Linked DNA regions of Homo sapiens: all the other regions are linked to region 4. Evidence: promoter capture Hi-C in 16 types of primary human blood cells and fetal thymus (Javierre and others, 2016). All regions are on one chromosome and are shown on one strand. Each heading gives the region's core, a stretch centred on a gene start or on the middle of the fragment in contact. The rest is flanking DNA. Distances are from core to core; before and after follow the strand shown. Region 1 overlaps ORC4 (origin recognition complex subunit 4). Region 2 overlaps ORC4 (origin recognition complex subunit 4). Region 3 overlaps ORC4 (origin recognition complex subunit 4). Region 4 holds the start of KIF5C (kinesin family member 5C).

The links. The method cuts DNA at HindIII sites, captures the fragments that hold promoters and counts their contacts. A CHiCAGO score of 5 or more calls a contact.
Region 1: a fragment that was not itself captured here is called in contact with the fragment with the promoter of KIF5C in region 4 in 1 of 17 cell types (total CD4 T cells); the score reaches 7.0 in total CD4 T cells.
Region 2: a contact is called between a fragment that was not itself captured here and the fragment with the promoter of KIF5C in region 4, in 1 of 17 cell types (total CD4 T cells). The highest score is 5.2, in total CD4 T cells.
Region 3: a fragment that was not itself captured here is called in contact with the fragment with the promoter of KIF5C in region 4 in 1 of 17 cell types (activated CD4 T cells); the score reaches 5.0 in activated CD4 T cells.

Annotation. Positions count from the first base shown.
Region 1 is chr2:147,943,596-147,946,553 of GRCh38, reverse strand. The region is part of intron 9 of ORC4 (origin recognition complex subunit 4); the gene reads left to right. Among named protein-coding and RNA genes, the nearest start is that of ORC4, 76 kb to the left of the region's middle. The HindIII fragment of the contact is 5,454 bases long and covers 1-2,958 here.
Region 2 is chr2:147,975,330-147,978,114 of GRCh38, reverse strand. ORC4 (origin recognition complex subunit 4) reads left to right here. Exons shown (of 14, transcript NM_181741.4): 2 at 2,140-2,213. The coding sequence starts at 2,157. Among named protein-coding and RNA genes, the nearest start is that of ORC4, 44 kb to the left of the region's middle. The HindIII fragment of the contact is 3,279 bases long and covers 1-2,785 here.
Region 3 is chr2:148,008,026-148,010,968 of GRCh38, reverse strand. The region is part of intron 1 of ORC4 (origin recognition complex subunit 4); the gene reads left to right. Among named protein-coding and RNA genes, the nearest start is that of ORC4, 11 kb to the left of the region's middle. RefSeq lists an enhancer at 1,826-2,943. The HindIII fragment of the contact is 5,987 bases long and covers 1-2,943 here.
Region 4 is chr2:148,873,597-148,876,476 of GRCh38, reverse strand. KIF5C (kinesin family member 5C) reads right to left here and starts at 1,250. Exons shown (of 26, transcript NM_004522.3): 1 at 734-1,250. The coding sequence starts at 859. KIF5C-AS1 (KIF5C antisense RNA 1) reads left to right here. Exons shown (of 4, transcript XR_001739733.2): 4 at 282-2,880. RefSeq lists enhancers at 1-5, 6-584 and a silencer at 957-1,426. The HindIII fragment of the contact is 10,493 bases long and covers 1-2,880 here.

The sequences.
Region 1 (2,958 bases), core at 201-2,700, 930 kb after region 4:
TAGGATTCCATCTATAGGAGCACCTTCTTTGTAGTTGGTACTCCCACATTGTCCCCTTTTACTGGGGTCTGGTGTGAACCAGACCTCTGGATCTTCAGCTTTTAGATCTACTTTTCAGTGCCTCACAGACTTTCATCTTCTACAACTCCTGAACTGATTGTCTTATTCCACCAGTATGTTTTTCTGGCTGTTTTAGAGATTCAAATGTAGTCTTTCATAGTATTTAAATGTCTGTACTTTCCATGGGCTTTTTTTTTTCCATACCTGCTCACACTTAATCTTCTTAAGGTAACTACATGGTCTAGGTTGCACTGTGCCATTTTTCATCCACTTTCCTTCCCAACTGTGTTGCATTCTGAGCATCTCAAATTGAGTCTATAAATAAAGAGGATGCTGGGAGTTACTGGTGAAGAAGTATAACTGCGTGACTTAGAAAATGATAACCATGTGTTAGTAGCATAACTAATCTACTTTCTGGACTTTTGTTGCAGACCTTAAATCCCCTGCATGTGAGCACTGTCTTGTCATCATTTTGATAGTCTTAATAGTCAGTTTCATTAAGTAGAACCAGCATCACTGGTGTTTGTGTCTCTGAGTTCTAATATTTTCTTCCCCTATCCTGATCATCTTGTGCCTGTCTTTGGTATGTGAATAAAATGAGCTTCACTTGAAAAATCTGTCAGCACCATGGTCAGAGTCCCTGCCTTGTGGAGTAGGGTGGTAGCTGCATTAAGGGAGCTATTCTTTCTCTTAGTGCCGATTATCCAGGAAGCTATTTTGAATGGCAGGATTAAGCCAATAGCAGTGATACAGATAACAGGTCACACATGGAATCTCATCCAAGAAATATCTTCAGGATAAGATTGAACCTTGATATCCTGCCTAATTTGAAGGTTTGTTTTAGCCCTACTTCAAATGAGTCAAATAAGCAAAGTAGACTCTATCTTAGCATGGCAGTATAAGAGGGATCCTTTGAAAAGAACATTTAAAAGAATCATACCTTATTCTCCTCAAATGAAATCTCCCAAAGTACTGTAGCTTATGTGGTTGTTGATAATAGCCTTATCCTCAAATAGAGTATAGTGTTTGAATCAAGATGGAATTAAAAATATAATGAACGAGGTTAGACAATTTTTTTTGTTTAAATGGCTCATGTAGATAAGGTAGGCATTTTAAAAAGCAGAATAAGTAATTATAGAAGCAAGAAGGCGATAGCTTTTAGAAAGAGGGGGAATTGGAGTCAAACCACTAAAAAATAAAGAGATAAAGTAGGAAGGTGGAGTATAGAAGATTAACCTTTGAAGCATCATGTCAAAGAGAGGCAAATGCAGGTTTTAAAAATAATTGATTCTTGCAGAGAAAATTTCTTCAATTTTGTCCCAGGTGATTTTCTTTAGTTTTCCTAAGTGCTCCGATTTTACCACATCAACTTTTACAACTTACAGATTACAGAAACCAAGACTATAGTTTGCCTGTGATATTTAGCCACATATCTTCCATATTGCAATTTTAAAACTGGAAAAGCTAAACAAATTTTTTTTTAATTTCCAAAAGGTATTACTTTGTTTTTTTTATGTTCACCCTGTGTACTTCCAAGGATATTCTACCGTGTTTGTGATAGAAAAAGATATAGTAACCAGAAGTCCTTTAAAATACAAAGAGAAGACTAGAAACAATAGCAAGGGAGTGGGAACTATAATTAAGATAATATATTTCCTGAGAGTATAAAATTTTATTCCAGTAGACTAGAACTTACTTCTGAATCTGGTCTTCTTAGAGTGGACAAAGTAAAGACATATAATTACAGCTCTAGAAAATACAGAAATGCTTAGTTTTCTGGGCTTTTTTTTTTTTTTAAAAGAATCCTTATTCCATGCAGATGATTTTTGAAAAATTATGACAATCTTTTCCAGGCCTTTCTTGGCTCTGCTACTTCTGAATTTACTCTTTTTTCATCTAATCTTTTCTTCAATGCCAGTGTTCCTCACCTTCCATTCAACCCTAATTACTGCAGTCACTTGCCTCTTTAGATGGTACTTTCTCAAAGGGCTGTGGTGATCTTTGAATTTCTAAAGCCATTAGCCTCTTCTCAAATATATCTTTTTACAAAGTAGTTTATATTGTTGAACCTCACTTCTCTCTTAAAACTTTGTTCCCTTGTTTTCTAGATCTCTACTCTGTCTTAGATTCTCTTCCAGTCTTTGGTATCTTTCTTAATTTCTTAGTTTTTCTCTTTTCCCACCTACTACTTAAATATTAATAATCCAAGATTCATTTTTTGACCACATTTCACTTTTCACAGGCCATTTTGTTTCCCATAGATCATGTTTGATTTTTATCTTCTACCTTTCAAACCCTTCCTTCTCTTCTGCTACCAGTTAATTCTCTACCAGATGTACTCCTATAAACGTCTTAATTCTTTTTTCTTCATAACACTCAGATAATTCCGACCCACTTTACCTCTTGTCTGGACAGCTACCTCCAGTTAGGTTTTTCTGCCTTTTCTTTTTGTACATTCACTTTGCCAGTAATTGAAACTCCAGTACGTGACTACTCATTTTCTGCCAATGTGATAATTTTCCTGCTACTCATGCTGTTCCCTGTAACTGGAATGTTCTTCCTTCTTTTTTAAATCTCTTGTCTCATCCAGTTTAAGCATTCTTTGTAATACTTTACCTTGTATCCCTAGGTACAGTAACTCATGCACTTCTGTTTTTGTGCTGCATTTTGTTCATTTCACTAGTATGACTGTGTAGTAGTTTCCCTTATTCAAGTACGAATTTGGGGTTAGCCAGGATTGTTTTATCATTGTGTTTATTGAATTAACGTAAAGAACAGGATAAGAAAATCAGTAGACTGGAAACTTTATTTTGGTTTTAGTGTTCTACAAATAAGACCAACATCTATTTAATAATGAATTAATATTAGATAGAGTTACTAAGGTACACCAACCAGTAA
Region 2 (2,785 bases), core at 13-2,512, 900 kb after region 4:
TCCTGGAGGGAGATGGGGCTGTCCATAGCCCTGCAAACAGGCCACCTGACCTAGGTCCCTCATCAGTCCCTGAAACACCCCTGAAAAGTGGCTCCAGCCCCTCTCAATACAGCAGGCCCGCTAACTTAAGGACCTGAAGGGAGACATGCAGGTTTGTGACACCTTAGGCCTGAAGACCTAAGTCTTGACTGTAGGCCCTGAAGCAACCCTGTAGCTTAGTTCCAGCCCCACTCAGCTGTGGACTAGGGCAGTACTGCCTGTTAAGGAATCTACTCAGTGATCCAGTAGGAGCCCTCCCAGGTTCCCAGAGAAAGCCAAACCATCCACACACCTGGTAACAGGTCTTTTCTCTGCATATCTTCATCCACTGTACAGACCGAGGTCCTAGAAAAAGTCCAGTCCGCCAAGGGACCAGATAGGGTTCATATCCTGCTACAGCCCCTGGTAACAAGGTCCTATCGGGAGGACAGGGCCCTTTCCAAGTCTGAAGCCTGGACCACAGTTGGGGAATCTGTCACGTGAATGAAGATCTGCCCTCCAATTGACTTTTCCAGGTCTTGGGCCCCACTGGGGTTTCACAGACGCCTGCCTGAATCTCAACGCTAACACAAAGACCATTTTGTCCGTGGGTGGCTGTGAAATTATTGTTGCTATTTGGGGACACAAGCTGAAGGGCCTCCTATTTCATCTTGCTGCTGTCATTCTCGCATTATTATAATGTTAATCATTGGTGATTTGATGATAAGTCAGCTTTTTTTGAGTTTTATGAGTTCTGGCAGTAAAAAAGTTCCAAAATGTCTTTCACTGAGCTAAATTCAGGGTGTTAGCAAAGCTGTGTTCCTTCTGGAGATTAGATGAGACCAGAATACACTTTTTTAAAAAAGTGGTTAACTTGGTTGGATCCAAATCCTGGCTCTTCCATTTATATACTGTTTGATTTTGGTCAACATACCTAGCCTATCTGTGTCTTCTAACCTTAAAAGAGGATTATAATAGTAGTTATTCCACATGATAGTTTTGAGGATTAAATGAGTTGATAAATGCAAAGCATTTGTAACAATTCCTGATACCTAAACACTGCTTAAGCTGTTACTGTCTATCTGTTAAAATTTATTCCTATAGGAAATCAGTGCTAAGAAAATTAGGTCTTTTAGTCAAAGGTCTTTTAGTCATTTGTCTATGAGTATGGTACACTTGAGGAGAATTTTACAAAAAATATAATTTTTTCATTAATTTTTTTTTCATTCCAGTTATTCATTGCCAACTTTGTTTTGGGCATTATGCTACAATGCTTAGAATATAAAAAATCTCAATTTGGAAACAGTAGCAATTAAACAGACAATTTTGTTTAAAATAATTCAATAATAAAGCAAAATACAGGCACTTATGAGTGTTTAAGGAAGAGGCATTTAACCTAGTCTGTAATGATTATTTGTGTATTGTTGGTGAGTGGAGCAAGAAAGGGAAGGTTTTCTATAAGGGATGATCCTGTGGGATGGATGGGTGGGAGAATCATAAAGGAAGCATGTAAGTTAAAAAAAGAAAAAGGAAGAAAGGGAAGGTGAATAGAAGATTTAATCGAAAGGGAGGAGTAGCTGTAAGAACCACATACAGGCCTGGAGGTATTGTAGGTTCAGTTCCAGACCATTGCAGTGAAGCAAATATCACAATAAAGTGAATCACCCAAAACTTTTCTCAGTGCATATAAAATTTATATTTACAGTATACTAGTCTACTAAGTGTGCAGTAGTAGCATGTCTAAAAAATGTACATACCTTAATTTGAAAATACCTTATTGCTAAAAAATGCTGACAGACACAAAATGGGGACATGGTGTTTGAAAAATGGTGCCTATCGACTTGTTGGACACAGAGTTGCTACAAACCTTCAGTTTACTTTAAAAAAAAAATGCACCATCTGCAAAGCACAGTAAAACAAAGTGTGCCTAAAGTGTGGTATGAGAGTGTTGAATCAGCCTGTACTTAGACAAAATGAAGCCATCGAAGATTTTGAAGGTCTTAGGGTTTGAGCATTTTTTACTTTTAAAAACTTGTATTTATTTTAATTCTAGAACAGTAAATTCTTAAGTAATCTCTTTAAGTCACTACGTTTATAATATTTATGCCAATTTTTTTAAAGGATTTGAATTTGTTGAAATGAGCAGTCGTAAATCAAAGAGTAACAGCTTAATTCACACAGAGTGCCTTTCACAGGTTAGTATGTATTTTCATTAATCTCAAGATATTTTACCCTGTAAAGCTGTTCAGAGAAATAGTTATCTTCTTAACCTGAATTTTCCCTTTAGCATTTAGGAAGAATCACTCTTTCTAACCTTAGGGAGATATCAGTACGAGACCTTAACGAGATGCCAGCACAAGGTCGTAAGAACAATCATCTGGAAGCAAAATTTTCCAAACTCTGTCAAAATTAAATGTGGACCAACAGATTTTGTTGTTATGATTGTTCTCTGCCCTTTTTGTCAGTTCATATATTTTTTTTAATATTAGTGTTTTATACTGTAATTTAATTTTATCCTTATTAAGTCTGGGTAGTCAGAATTCTAGCTTTTACTTTTTTCTTTCCAATCTAGATGCCTTTTTTTTTTTTTCCCTTTTCTTGCCTAATTGCCCTGGCTTGAACTTTCTTTAAAATGTTGAATAGGATTGGGAAGAATGGACATTCTTGTCTATGTTTTCATCTTAGAGAAACAGCAGCATTCAGTCTGTCACTGTTATATATGATGTTAACTGTAGGATTTTTTTGTAGATGCCCTTTATTAAGTTGA
Region 3 (2,943 bases), core at 94-2,593, 870 kb after region 4:
TAATCCCAGCTAATCTGGAGGCTGAGGCAGGAGAATCGCTTGAACCCAGTAGGTGGAGGTTGCAGATCACCTGGGCAACAGAGTGAGACTCTGTCTCAAAAAAAAAAAAAAAAAAAAAAAGAATAAATCTGGCCTCATAAAATGAATTTGGAGATCCTCCTTGATTTTGGAGAATGATTTGAGTAGGATTGATGTTAGTTCTTCTTTAAATGTTTGGTAGAACTCAGTGAAGCCATGAAGTCCTGGCCTTTTCTGTGATGGGGGACTTTTTATTATTGTTTCTATCTTGAAACTTATTATGGGTCTATTTCGATTTTGGTTTTCTTAATGTTTCATTCTTCTTAGGCTGTATGTGCCTAGGAATTTATTCGTTTCTTCTAGGTTTTACAATTTATTGGCATGCAGTTGTTCAAATGGTCTCCAATGATCCTTTGAATTTTTGTGATATCAATTGTAATGTCTCCTTTTTTGTCTCTGATTTTATTTGGATCTTCTTTTTTTTCTTTTCTTAGTCTGGGTAAAGGTTCATTGATTTTGTCTGTCTTTCCAAACAACCCTTTTCATTTCATTGATCTTTTCTATTTTTTTGTCTCAATTTTATTTCTGTTTTTTATTATTTATTTTCTTGTTTTCTTTATTATTTCTCTTCTTAATTTGGGGCTTGGCATGCTCTTGCTTTTCTAGTTCTTTAAGATGCATTACTAGGTTGTTTATTTCTTGGTTTTCTACTTTTTGATTTGCACATTTATTGCTATAAACATTCCCTTTAGTGTTAGCTTTAACTGTATCTCATAAGTTTTAGTAGGTTGTGTTTCCATTTTCATTTGTTTCAAGACATTTTTTAATTTCCTTAATTACTTCATTGGTTGTTCAGGCACGTATTGTTTAATTCTTATATGTTTGTATAGTTTCCAAAGTTCCACTTGTTATTTATTTCTACTTTTATTCCATTGTGGTTAGAAAATATACTTTTTATCAGACTTGTTTTGCGGCCTAACATGATGGTGCTCTTTTTGGATTTCTGTTTGCATGCAATGTCTCTTTCCATCTTTTGGTCTATCTATGTTTTTATAAATGAAGTGGGTTTCTTATATGTAGCAGGTAGTAGGGCCTTGTTTTGTTTAGCCCTTCAGCTCTTCTGTGTCTTTTGATTGGAGAATTTAGGATCCATCCTTGAGAAATGTTCCATGTGCTAAGGAGAAGAATGTATTCTGCGGCTGTTGGATGACAGCTTCTGTAAATGTCTATTAGGTCCATTTAATCTATAGTGCAGATTAAATTCATTGTTTCTTTCTGTCTAGATGATCTGTCCAATGGTGAAAGTGGGCTGTTGAAGTCCCAAGTCATTACTGTATTGGGTTCTGTCTCCTTAACTCTAATACACTTGACTCTATATATCTAGATGCTTCTGTGTTGGATAGATATGTATTTATAATTTTTATGTCCTCTTGCTGAATTAAAACCTTTTGTATTATATGATAACCTTTTTTTCTTTCTTCATAGTTTTTATGTTGAAATCTATTTTATCTAAAAATAGATACAAAGCTACTTGGGCTCTTTTTGGGTTTCTGTTTGGTGCAGTATCTTTTTCCGTCTTTTTGTTGTTAGTCTATGTTTTTATAGTGAAGAATTTAGTCCATTCACATTCAGTATTATTATTGATAGGTAAGGACTTACTACTGCCTTTTTATTGTTGTTCTGGTTATTTTCTAGGGCTTTTCCCCCATTTTTTTCCTTGTTTTCCTTTGTGATAATTATTTTTTGGTAGTATGTTTTAATTTCTTGCTTTTTATTTTTTTGTGCACCTATTAGAGGTTTTTGTTTTGTGGTTACTATGAGGTTAGCAAATAACAATTTATAGCCAATTATTTGCAACTGATGACAACTCTGATTGCAAAGAAAAGAAAAAATACACGCACAGAAAAAACTAAAAACCTGTACACTTCTACTCCATCCCTTCACTTTTTGACTTTTTGTCTCTATATATTTTTATATTTTAAGTTTTGGAGTAGTTTTTTTTTGATAGTGTTATATAGAAAGTTTCGATGCTGCAAAAGAAATAGCACTCGAATACAAAATTTTCTTTTTAATATTCAGCAAGGCAAGCTACTTCTATATAGAAGGGTGCACCCTTACAGATGGAACAATGGTGAGCGCACATTTGGACAAGGGATGGGAAGGGGTTCTAATCCCTGACGTATGTGGCCCCTGCTGCTCTGTCGTTCCCCTATTGGCTGGGGTTAGACCGCACGGGCTAAACTAATTCCAATTGGCTAATTTAAAGAGAATGACAGGGTGAATGCTTTGGCGGGAGTCAGGGCAGAGCAGGTAGCAGGTAATTGGAATGAGTTAGGGTGGAGCAGGTGATTGGAATGTTGGGTGGAGCAGATGATCAGAATGAGTCAGGGTGGAGTAGGTAATCGAAAAAGGTTGCTTTACGAGGAAGTTAAGTTTAAAACTAGAAGGCAAAGAATTGAACATACTGACACACTAATTCTTTGAAAAGAAATTTAGAACTCATATCTAACAATCCCTCCCCTTGTATTTCCTTACAGCTTTCTTTTCAAACTTTTCTTAACATGTCTTGGCTTAGTTGTTTTGCTTGATTTTCTAAAAGAAGAAGGTTCTCTAGATAAGGTAGAGTTTAGAACTCTTCTAACAATATAGGTTTGTCTTTTAATCTTCCTGCTAAAGATATGAGCGGTTAGAGTATTCTGTATTTATCTGTGCACTTACTTTCACCAGTGAGTTTTATACCTTCAGATGATTTCTTGTTGCTTGTTAATGTCCTTTTCTTTCAGATTGAAGAACTTCCCTTTAGCATTTTCTGAAAGATGAGTCTGGTGTTGATGAAATCCCTCAGCTTTTATTAGTCTAGGAGAGTCTTCATGTCTCCCTGTTTCAAGGATAATTTCGGTGGATGTATTAGATTGGTGCAAAAGT
Region 4 (2,880 bases), core at 1-2,500:
GCGTGAGGCGCATCAGAGGGTCTGCAGACATGGGAGGGAGGTCATCCCAGAGGGGAGGGATCAAGCCGGGACTCCACATCCAGGGCAGCCAGGCGTGAGAGGAAGCGGGAGACACACCAGGCCTCCAGGGGACACCGAGGCCACCAGTACTCCCCCAACCCTCCGCCTTCCGCGCGCGGAGCCAGGTGTAACACCGCGGGGAGCCGCGTCTACACTGCCGCGGGAGCTCCGAGACGCGACTAGAAATTTTCCTGTACCCCTTTTTCTTTCTTTTTTGCTAGGGTCGTGAGAAGAAGAGGCAAGGCGTTTGGTAAATCGAATTGATTGATGCCCAGAAGCATTTGCGGGTTGCAGAGCTCACACTTTAAAGGGGGCCTGGGCACCCGGCTTGAGGGTCACCCGAACACACTACCCACGCGGCGAGGCGAGCGTGGGGAACAATGGGCCCACCCGGGCCCCCACCCGGCGAACAATGGCGGCGCCGAGCCCGTCTTCGCCCCCCATCCCCACCCCCGCCACCCCCGCCCGGCCCGCCGCTCCCGGCCGCCTCTCCACCCGCCCGGGAGGGAACCATAGTGCGCGGGGCGAGGGGTCTCTGGTCAGGTCCACCCGAGAGGCCAGCCCCGCGGGAATGTCCGAGGGGGCGGCCTAAACACCTCCGCTGCGTCTGGGGCGTCGGGGCGCCCAGCTGCGGCGCGGAGCAGCAGGGAAGGCAGACGCCCCAGCCACTTACCCCGATCACCACGGTCTCATCGCCTTTAAATTTGGGGATGAATTTGTCCCCGCGGAGGATCTCCGCTTCGTTGAGGGGCCGGAACCGGCACATCACTTTGATGCTGCATTCGGCTGGATCCGCCATCTCGGCCGGCGGTAGGGAGGGGGCACGGGGATGGGTGGGGGGCCGGGGCCGGGAACGACGAGGGAGGAGGCCGCGAGCTGCACCGCCCACAGCTAGGCCGCCTCCTGCAGCCTCCGACGACGCTTCTCAGCAGGTCATCGCGAGCCCGGCCGGCTGAGCAGCCCCGGCCGCTCCGAGCCCGGGAAGGTGGGCAGCTTCTCCGCTCCGGCCCCTCCGGCTGCAGACCGGCCTGCCCTGGCCCTGCCCCGCCCCTGCCCAGCGCCCCCCGGCCCACCTGCCCGCGACCACGCGGCGGGCGGAGGAGGCGATGCGCAGGGAGCGAGCCTCGCCCGGCTCAGACCTCCCGGGCTCCTGCGCGCTCAGCCATCCTGCATCAGCACCAGCGCGCTCTGCCGCCTTGAGACCCGCCCCTCCGCCCCGCCCTCCCCTGGCCCGCCCCGGGACGGTGACGTCACCGTAGAGGTCCGCCCGGCCCCCGCCCGACTCCGAGCGCTGCGCATCCCGGGACTTGTAGTCACTCTACCTGCCGGGGGAAGGACAGGATGCGACCTCCAAGAGCCTGCAAGTCCGGTCTGGCTGCCCAAGCCGGAACCGGATGGAGGTCATATCCAATATTTCCGGTTAAAATCTCTAGATAACTGGGTCTGGATCATCCTGATCCCAAAAGAAAATCACTTGGGAAACAGCTCCCAATAGCCCCTGGGTTTCATCCTTCAACTTCTACCACTAGATAAGGATGGATGTCTGTTCAGAGTTTGGGTTTGATTGGCCTTGGTTTAGGTTGGCATCTAGTGCTAAACCAATCAACCAGAATCAGGGATTTTGTAAGATTATGGAGGAATCCCTTGGTGGGAAGGTTCCCAAAAGAAGAGGGATGGTATTCCCAGACATGGTGCCGGGCTGGCAGAACAACTGAGTGTCCACTCTATTTTTCCAGAACTTCCTTTTCCTCTAAGACCTAGCTCAACCCTCCTTCCTCAGACTTTCCCAGCTCACTAAACACCTATAAAGAGTTGGTGGCCCTCCTTGATGTTCCCCTAATCTGCTGTGCCTGTCTCTAGCACTGCACTTGGGTGGTGATATCTGCTTGATATCTTTGTGTCTGTAGCATCTAGCACATAGTGGGCAGCATACTGAATAAGGATTCTACCCTAGGAAGAAGCAATGCATGAGTGTGAATCCCACCTCAGCCACTTATTAGATGTATGACCAACAGGCGGAGGAAATTAAGAGCGGAGGAAATTAAGAAGTCTTAATTTCCTTAAGACTCAGTTTCCTCATCTCTGTCATTGGAATAATATCATCTTGTGATTTCTGGGGGAATTAAAAGACAGATGCTTTTAAAGCACCTAGCACGGTGCCTGACATGTATATAGGATAAGCTCTTGAAAGTTAGATGTTATTGGGTGCTGAACAAATGATCATAAAACAAATAAGTTAGTTAATTTTAGGAACACATCTGTTGCTTAAATTCGGGTAATACCTGAAAATACAAGTGTTCTCTGCCTAGCTGAGAGGACAGACCTACTAAAATCAACTTTTATAAACCCTTGTAAGTAGTACCAGTTCTATTTCATCTCCTCATGTGCAGTGGAAGTAGATTAAAAAGACCCAGGTGCCACCTTCTCATCTGTTTTTAAATTAAGTAATTCTCAGGCTCTGGCTCAGAGACCCATCATCTTAAATGATCAACTTCATAATATACTAGAGAGGACAATCCAATTCTCAGTTTCCCTGAGCCCACCAGAAGATGCCCAGAACCTTGCATACACTGGTTTATCTGAGGAGGTCAGGATTATCTCAAGTGGACAGAGACGTATCTGTGTGTCACTGTGTTCAGTCATCATTCATTCGTTCATCTGTTCATTCATCAGCTATTAACTGAGCAAATGGCATTTGCTGTCACTCTGTAAACTTAGATTTATTAAGTGAACCCTTTTCAAGGGAGATAACGTAGGGCCTCTCATTTGAAGGGAGGTTGCAAAATAAGTCATCGCCCTCAGGCAGCTTAGAAACTAGTG